Regions from separate parts of the Homo sapiens genome. Here region 1 is linked to region 2. Evidence: promoter capture Hi-C in 16 types of primary human blood cells and fetal thymus (Javierre and others, 2016). All regions are on one chromosome and are shown on one strand. Each heading gives the region's core, a stretch centred on a gene start or on the middle of the fragment in contact. The rest is flanking DNA. Distances are from core to core; before and after follow the strand shown. Region 1 holds the start of PSEN2 (presenilin 2). Region 2 has its middle 63 kb from the start of LINC01641.

Region 1 (4,433 bases), core at 1,430-3,929, 590 kb before region 2:
CGAGACCACCCTGGTCAACATGGCAAAAACCCCCTCTCTACTAAAATTACAAAAATTAGCTGGGCAGGGTGGCACATACCTGTAATTCCAGCTAACTTGGGAGGCTGAGGCAAGAGAATCACTTGAACTTGGGAGGCAGAGGTTGCAGTGATCTGAGATCGTGCCACTGCACTCCAGCCTGGGCGAAAAAGCAAGACCCTGTTTCAAAACAACAACAACAACAAACCAGGTTGGGGAGTTATTTCCCAGGAATTCTGTAGCAAGGGCTCATATGCATCAGTTAGAGTTGGACTTTGTGACCTTCAGGTGTCCTTCCTTTTCCAAGAATCGATTATTTTTATAATTCTGTTAAATGTAATTAATTTCTCAAATTTATCAAAGATCATTATTTGGACCATTATTTTCTTAGCCAAAATGCTGGCCTGCCCCAGTTCCATCCAGGGTTAATCTGCATTTAAACAGCTCTTTGAAAATATTTGGTTTTCCCCATCCATCTATGGCCAATTGATTTTTGACAAGAAGCCAAGACAATTCAATAGGAAAAGGACAATCTCTTCAACGAATGGTGCTGGGACAACTAGAAGTCCACATGCAAAACAATGAACTTGGACCCTAACCTCACACTACATACAAAAATTATCTTAAAATGGATCAACAACCTAAATATAGGAGCTAAAACTATAAAACTCTTAGAAGAAAACACAGGAGTAAATCTTCACAACCTTGGATTTGACAATGATATCTCACACAGGACACCAAATGCACAAACAACAAAAGAAAAAACAGTTAAGCTGAAGTTCATCAAAATTAAAGTTTTATGTGCATGAAAGGACATCAGAAAGTGAAAAAGACAATTACAGAATGGGAGAGAAATATTTGCAAAGCATATATCTGATAAGGGTCTAGTGTCCAGAATATATAAAGAACTCTTACAACCCAACAACAAAAAGACAACCCAATTTTAAAATGGGCAAAGGACTTGAATAGGCATGTCTCCAAAGAAGATATACAGATGGCCAACAAACACATGAAAAGGAGAATGCTTAATAGCATTAGTTATTAGGAAAATGTAAACCAAAACCAGAATGAGGTACCGCTGCACACCTACTAGGATAACAATAAAATGGAAAATAACAAGTGTTGGTGAGGATGTGGAGAAATTGGGATCCTGTACATTGCTGGTAGGAATATAAAATGGTTCAGCCATCGTGGAAACCACTTGGGGTTCCCCAAATAGTTAAACACTGAAGGCTGGGCACGGTGGCTCATGCCTATAATCCAGCACTGTGGGAGGCCAAGGCAGGCAGATAACTTGAGTTCAGGATCAAGACCAGCCTGGCCAACATGGGGAAACCCCATCTCTACTAAAAATACAAAAATTAGCCAGATGTGGTGGCACACACCTGTAACTCCAGCTACTCAGGAGGCCGAGGCAAGATAATTGCTCGAACCTGGGAGGCAGAGGTTGCAGTGAGCCAAGATTGCGGCCACTGCACTCTAGGCTGGGCAACAGAGCAAGGCTCTGTCTCAAAAAAAAAAAAAAATTGAATTACCATGCGATCCAACAATTCAACCCCTATGTATGTACCCTCCCCAAATAAAAATGGGCTCTCAAACAAATACATGTACATGCATGTTCATGGTAGCATTATTCACAAAGCCAAAAGATGCAAACAGCCCCAATGTCCATAGATGAATAAACTGTGGCATACATGATACACACACACACACGCACACACATATACATATACACACACAAACACTATTCAGTCATAAAAAGGAATAAAGTCTGTTACATGCTACCTGAGGATGAACCTCGAAAACATGCTAAGTGAAAGACACAAAAGTCCACACACTGTGATTCCGTTTATATGAAGTATCTAAAGTAAGTAAATATAGAGACAGAAGTAGACTGGTAATTGCCAGGGGCTGGGGGGGAAGAGGGCATTGGGAAGAAACTTCTCAATGGGTATGGGGTTTTTCTTTCGGAATGAGGAAAATGTTTTGGAACTAGACAGAGGTGGTGGTTGCACAGCATTGTGAATTCACTAAATGCCACTGAAATGCCCACTTTAAAATGGTAAATTTTATGTTATGTGAATTTCACCTTAAGTTAAAAAAAAAAAAGTAAAACTACTCAGACAACGCCAAATTATTGACAATCTCAACCTACCCCACAGACCCCAAATCCTGGAACCACAACCCCCTAGGCCAATTCTCAGGTCAGGCAGCAATTTATTCCTGTTCAATTTTATGCAGAGCTCCTGGTGGCTCTGAAGCGCCCTAGGGAACAGACCAGGAACATTCTCATGGTGTTAGCTCACATTGGGCCATTAGTGCTCCTTTAATGTGAGAACAACCGGGAGGAGGAGGGGATGTGGACCCAAAACTACAAGAAAGAGTGTCCTCGAAGCCTATGTCCTACCGCCCCACGCTGCTGCCAGGCCCGCAGGAAGATGACAGGCCCGGCCTCCACTCCTTCTAAGGTCGTCGCTTAGTTCCGACGTCGGGATGACCCTGTCATCCACGCGGCGTGAAGGCCACCCTCCCCGCGCGCCCGGGACTCCAGGTGGGGCCCCAGTGGACGAGGGAACGCGGCGTCGCCCACCGGGCGTGGCCTGGGCGGGCGTGGGGCGGGGCCTGGGCCGGCGCCGGGTCCGGCCGGGCGCTCAGCCAGCTGCGTAAACTCCGCTGGAGCGCGGCGGCAGAGCAGGTGAGCGGGCGGTGCCGGGGGGTGCCCAGGCCAGGGCCCTGTCGCCTGCGGCGCTGAGGGCCCGGGGTGGGGCTGCGCCCTGAGGGCCCTGCCCTGCCCTCCGCACGCCTCTGGCCACGGTCCCTTCCCCGGCTGTGGGTCTGCGGCCCCTGCGTGCGCAGCGCTCCTGGCCTCTGCGGCCAGCGCGGGGGCGGAGAGAGGAGAGTGCCCGGCAGGCGGCGGCTGGGCCGGCCCGGAACTGGGTCGTGGAAGGATCGCGGGGAGCGGCCCTCAGGCCTTCGGCCTCACTGCGTCCCCACTTCCCTGCGCCCGCCTGCCGCCGAGCCCCGGCTGGGGGTGGGCGCGGCGCGAGCGGTTAAAGGGCCGGTGCATTTAAAGGAGCGGTGCACGTGGGTCTCTGAGGCGTGTAGCAGGCGGGGGCGTTTTGTTCTTCTTCTCTCTCGCCGGAGACCTCCGTTGCGCCGAGTCCATTCGGCCTCTAGCACCGGGTCCTGGGCATGCTTTCCCCGGGAAGGAGGCGCGCGGGGGCTCTGCCCGCACGTGAGGGGCAGGGCCGCAGGCTCAAGCCTAGAGCCGGTTTCTGTTAGCAGCGGTGTTTGGCTGTTTTATCAGGCATTTCCAGCAGTGAGGAGACAGCCAGAAGCAAGCTTTTGGAGCTGAAGGAACCTGAGACAGAAGCTAGTCCCCCCTCTGAATTTTACTGATGAAGAAACTGAGGCCACAGAGCTAAAGTGACTTTTCCCAAGGTCGCCCAGGTACGATATAGCAGAGCCAGGCTTCGACCCCAGTGTCCTGGCTTCTAGATCTGCTGTCCATCCCTCCGAGCAGACCTCACCCCTGTTTATTGCCTTAATAAGTATTCCCTTTGAAAGGTATGAACGGTGTTGAGTGAAGTAACTGCATCCCTATTTACAAATGGAGAACCTGAGAGCATTCCATAGAGACGATTGTAGACTAACTTAACTCAGAAGCGACAGCCTGGGGTTGCCAAGGCTGTCTACGAAGTAACTTGATTAGGACCGACCCCAGCTTCCAGTAAGGAAGCCTCTGATGCCTCTGTAGCCAATTCTGCAGACACCTGAGCCTCCAAGGCCTTCAGCCAAGACCTTTGGCGGTAATTGGAGTCTCGGGATAAGCTGCTTCAGGTGTGTGAGCCTCAGGTTCTTCTCTCCTGAATGTGGTTGTGGGCAGCCGGTGACTGGCGCAGGTGCAGAAGGGGCCTGGTTCTTGGCCCCACCTCAGAGCTGCGTCCTCACGACGCCCACGTTGAGCCTTGGGTTCCAGGGCAGAGACTGGAGTGAGGGCTTGGGGGCATGTTGCTTTGAAGTGGGATGGATGTATCAGGTTTTTGGGGAAAACTCTGTACCCTTTGGTGTTGAAGTGCCCATGTGCCAAGTCTTGAGTCCAGCATGTTCACATGTGGGGAGTGAGTGGCTTGTTCCTGTCTATTTGAAAGAGCAGCAAGGAGGAGGAGGAGCAAGGGCTAGGGGCTGCTGCTGGGGTGCCTGGAGCTGTGGTGCATAATGTCACACCTGTCTCCCCTCCGTAGCTGCTCACCGTCCCCCCAAGGGGGGTTTGCCTCTTGCCTACTTTGGCCTTTCTCTGTTATCGATGTTAATAATGACATATATCTCGCTTATGAGTTGGTCATAATAAAAAGCTATCTTGTACAGAATATTAGAATTTAAGATCTTAAGAATTTCAATGACACTGAAATAGT
Region 2 (4,157 bases), core at 1,619-4,118:
TGGGGTAAGCCAGGGAGAAGGCTTTTGTAGAGCTCAGGGGAAAGCAGAGAAAGAGCTTGGCTGGGGTGGTATGGTGGGGGTGGCAGTGGAGGGAGGGGGCAGATTTGGGAGATCTTTAGGAGGAACACTGACAAGATTTGGTGATGGATTTTATGCGAGGGCTAGGGGAAGAGAGGGAGTTGTTAAGGGTGACATCTGAATTTTTGGTTCTCCTAACTGCAGGGATTGTAGGAAATGCTGGGAGACACCAGGGCAGGCTCTACCCCAGACCTCGGCTTTCCTCTAGAGCCAGGACAGTCTTCTCTAGTGTTACCTACGTGTGCTTGCTCAGCATGTGTGGCTGACCGTCCGATATGTTTTGCAACCGACCAGTTGTCTTGGATGACAACAGATTTCCCTCCAAGATTGGCTCTGTATATTTGGTTTGAATCAGGGTGAGATGATGAAAGGGTGAGGAGGGAAAGAGAGGGAAGAGCTGTGGAAGGAAGGGCAGGGGGGTGGCAGATGGGGGTGACATCCTGGGAAGAACAGGGTAGCAGTGTCCCTCTTGTATTTGGAATAAGTTCCACCTCTGCCAGTCCTGGTTTATCCTCTTCTTGCTACCATCTGGCTTACATAAATATTCTGAATTGTGACTCTGAAATACTCAAATGCCATTTGTCACCTGGAGGAAATAATTTCCTTCACGCTAAAGAAGTTCTTTATAGAGAAAAAAATGGCCCTGAAAGTCTAGTGATGCAACTACCCTAGTTCAACTATGGCTAGAAAGCACCTGTCTACAGGAATAACAAATATGACTTGCCTCACCAACATGCATGTATCCCTTTTATTTATTTGTTTGTTTTTCAGACAGGGTCTCACCCTGTTGCCCAGGCTGGAGTGCAGTGGTGAAATCTCGGCTCACTGTAGCCTCTGCCTCTGGGGCTCAAGCAATTCTCATGCCTCAGCCTCCTGAGTAGCTGGGACTACAGGCCCGCACCACCACGCCTGGCTAATTTTTGTATTTTTTGGTTGAGATGGGTTTCACCATGTTGGCCAGGCTGGTCTCGAACTCCTGACTTCAAGTGATCCACCTGCTTCAGCCTCCCAAAGTGCTGGGATTACAGGTGTGAGCTGCCGCACCCAGCCCCTTTTATTTTTTGATGAATTTTCTGAGCCCCAACTTTTTATTTCTTTCATTTTAGGCAGTGGTGCAATCATTCCACTGCAGCCTCCAACTCCTAGGATCAAGTGATTCTCCCACTTCAGCATCCAAAGTAGCTGGGACTACAGGCACGCACCAACGCACCCAGATAATTTTTATTTTTTGTAAATACTGGGGTTTCGCTATGTTGCCCAGGCTGGTCTTAAATTCTTGGCATTGAGCCGCCCCACCTAATCCCATCAAGCTTGATTTTATTAGCAGAAATCCAGTGTTTTCCTCTTCGGGCCATCCTCCTTCAGAATTTCCAAGAACGCTTTATCCAGCTCTTCCATTGCAGCAGCCTCGCCTCTAATGGACCTCAAAGCTCCCATCTTCTCTCTAGTCCCTTCTCTTGAGAACATCCAGAGTGATCCGACCAAGTCATACCCTTGCTTAAAACCTTTCAGGGCTTTCATTGTTCTTAAAGCAAAGAGTGAACTCCTAACCACACCTTAGAGGCTGGTGTGAGGTGGCCCCTGCCCATTTTTCCAATCTGTGCTCTCCTCCTTCTTCATCTGTGTTCTATCAAGTGGTCTTCTTTCATCTCCTCAACCACACTAAGCCATTTAAAGCCTCAGGGCCTCTGGCCGGGCATGGTGGCTCGTGCCTGTAATTCCTGCACTTTGGGAGGCTGCGGTGGGTGGGTCACCTGAGGTGGAGTTCCAGACCAGCCTGGCCAACATGATGGAACCCTGTCTCTACCAAAATTACAAAAAATTAGTCGGGGGTGGTAGTGGGCACCTGTAATCCCAGCTACTCAGGAGGCTGAGGCAGGAGAATCGCTTGAACCCAAGAGGTGGAAATTGCAGTGAGCGCGCCACTGTGCTCCAGCCTGGGCAACAAGAGTGAAACTCTGAAACTCTGTCTCAAAAAAAAAAAAAAAAAAAAAAAAGACTCAGGTCCTCATTCCCTCAGTCTTGCATTCTCCTGCCCCCATTCTTTGCCTCATCATTTAGATCTCAGTCTCCAGGGAGGACCTCACCAATTACTCCATCAAAAATGTGTCTGCCTCTGCCTGCACACCACCACCTCTATGACCTTCATTATTCCCAGCACCCAGCCCCATATAAAGGAGACAGGAAACTTACTGTATTTTCTTGTCCCCTCTCTGCCCACATTTGCAATCAGGTCAACTGACTGGACTCCTCTTTCACTCAGGTGAGTCTCCCTCTGGTATTTTTAGTGTTCTTAAATGCCAGTGGACCTTGGTTGGAATCATCCCAATTCATCAGACAATTCAAAATAGAATAGGGTTGGGGTTGGAGATCTCTGCTTTTCCTCCTTGAGGGTCCCTCCATGCCCTACTTCATGGCAGCAGTGAAGGCAAGGTCTCAAATACAAGTCTGTTCTAATTTACCTACAAAGCTCCTTCTTATTCTTTTTTTTCAGACAGTGTCTTGCTATGTCACCCAGGCTGGAGTGCAGTGGCTATTCACAGGCACGATCATAGCTCACTGTAGCTGTGATCTCTCTGGCCCAAGTGATCCTCCTGTCTCAGCCTCCAGAGTAGCTGGGACCACAGGCACGAGCCAACTCCTTATTATTCTTTCTTTCTTTATTTTTTTTCTGAGATGGAGCCTTGCTCTGTTGCCCAGGCTGGAGTGCAATAGTGTGATCCTGGCTCACTGCAACCTCCACCTCCTGGGGTCAAGCAATTCTGCCTCAGCCTCCCAAGTAGCTGGGATTACAGGTGTGCACCATGCTTGGCTATTTTTTTTTTTTTTTTTTTGAGATGGAGTTTCGCTCTTGTTCAAGCGATTCTCCTGCCTCAACCTCCCAAGTAGCTGGGATTACAGGCGCCTGCCACTGTCACCAGCTAATTTTTGTATTTTTAGTAGAGATGGGGTTTCACCATGTTGGCCAGGCTAGTCTCAAACTCCTGACCTCGTGGTCCACCTGCCTTGGCCTCCCAAAGTGCTGGGATTACAGGCGTGAGCCAAGGTGCCTGGCCAATTCCTTATTACTCTAAAGCGATTTCTTTCTTTCCTCAATTTCTAATTATCTCTCTTACCTGAATGATGTGTAAGAACTTGGTTTTAATGTTGAGTGATTTTTGCAAGTGACTAAGTGGGGTGGGGTGAAGATTTGGCTGGGGTTTCAGCAGGAGATAGTGATGGTGACTTTGATGGTTTTGTACCATCAACTTTTTTGAAAATGTTGTCAAAGGAAAATCAAACCCCAGTATCTTCTCTTGATGAAAGGATCTGTAATAAGCTGTATTCTTATCAATAATTCCAAAGACTTGGCATGTGTGTCAATGCATTTGTTTAATTCTCAGTTTATAATTTACATGTAATCTTCATTTCTTCCTTAATTGTTAGACAAAAATCTTTGAAGATGTATCTCCAGCATTTTGCACAAGTTATTTCATTATGTTTTTTTCTTTCAGAACTAACATATAATAAGTTTGTTTACAGCCAATAAACATTTGTTTGAGGACAAAGATTAGCCATTTCCAGCATGTGTAATAATTTCCATCCTTATTTTAATTGTTTTTCCACCAAAACTGGCCTTTACAAATTGTATAGTTATTTACAAAATAATAAATGCAGTTACCACAAAATATTCAAAAGTTCCAAAAAATTGGCCAGGCACAGTGGCTCGTGCCTGTAATCCCAGGACTTTGGGAGGCTGAGGTGGGTGGATCACCTGAGGTCAGGAGTTCTAGACCAGCCTGGCCAACACAGTGAAATCCCATCTCTACTAAAACTACAAAAATTAGCTGGGCGTGGTGGCAGGTGCCTGTAATCCCAGCTACTTGGGAGGCTGAGGCTGGAGAATTGCTTGAACCTGGGAGGTGGAGGTTGCAGTGAGCTGAGATCACACCACTGCACTCCAGCCTGGACAACAGAGTGAGAATCCGTCTCAAAAAAAAAGAAAAAAAAAGAGTTACAAAAACTTAGAACCCCTGCTCTAAAGCGTCCTGGGCTTAGCTAAGAATTTTTGCCAGGTAAAAAACAACCACCTTAAGGAC

Evidence for each region. Contacts are between HindIII fragments. The CHiCAGO score rates a contact against its expected background, and 5 or more counts as called.
Region 1: a contact is called between the fragment with the promoter of PSEN2 here and a fragment that was not itself captured in region 2, in 1 of 17 cell types (endothelial precursors). The highest score is 5.2, in endothelial precursors.

The regions. Positions count from the first base shown.
Region 1 is chr1:226,867,937-226,872,369 of GRCh38, forward strand. It overlaps PSEN2 (presenilin 2), which reads left to right and starts at 2,680. Exons shown (of 13, transcript NM_000447.3): 1 at 2,680-2,713; 2 at 3,326-3,468. It overlaps LOC105373119 (a long non-coding RNA gene), which reads right to left and starts at 2,614. Exons shown (of 3, transcript XR_949226.4): 1 at 2,426-2,614. RefSeq lists silencers at 2,483-3,082, 3,093-3,142. The HindIII fragment of the contact is 3,629 bases long and covers 1-3,358 here.
Region 2 is chr1:227,454,759-227,458,915 of GRCh38, forward strand. No RefSeq gene overlaps it. Among named protein-coding and RNA genes, the nearest start is that of LINC01641, 63 kb to the left of the region's middle. The HindIII fragment of the contact is 2,964 bases long and covers 1,387-4,157 here.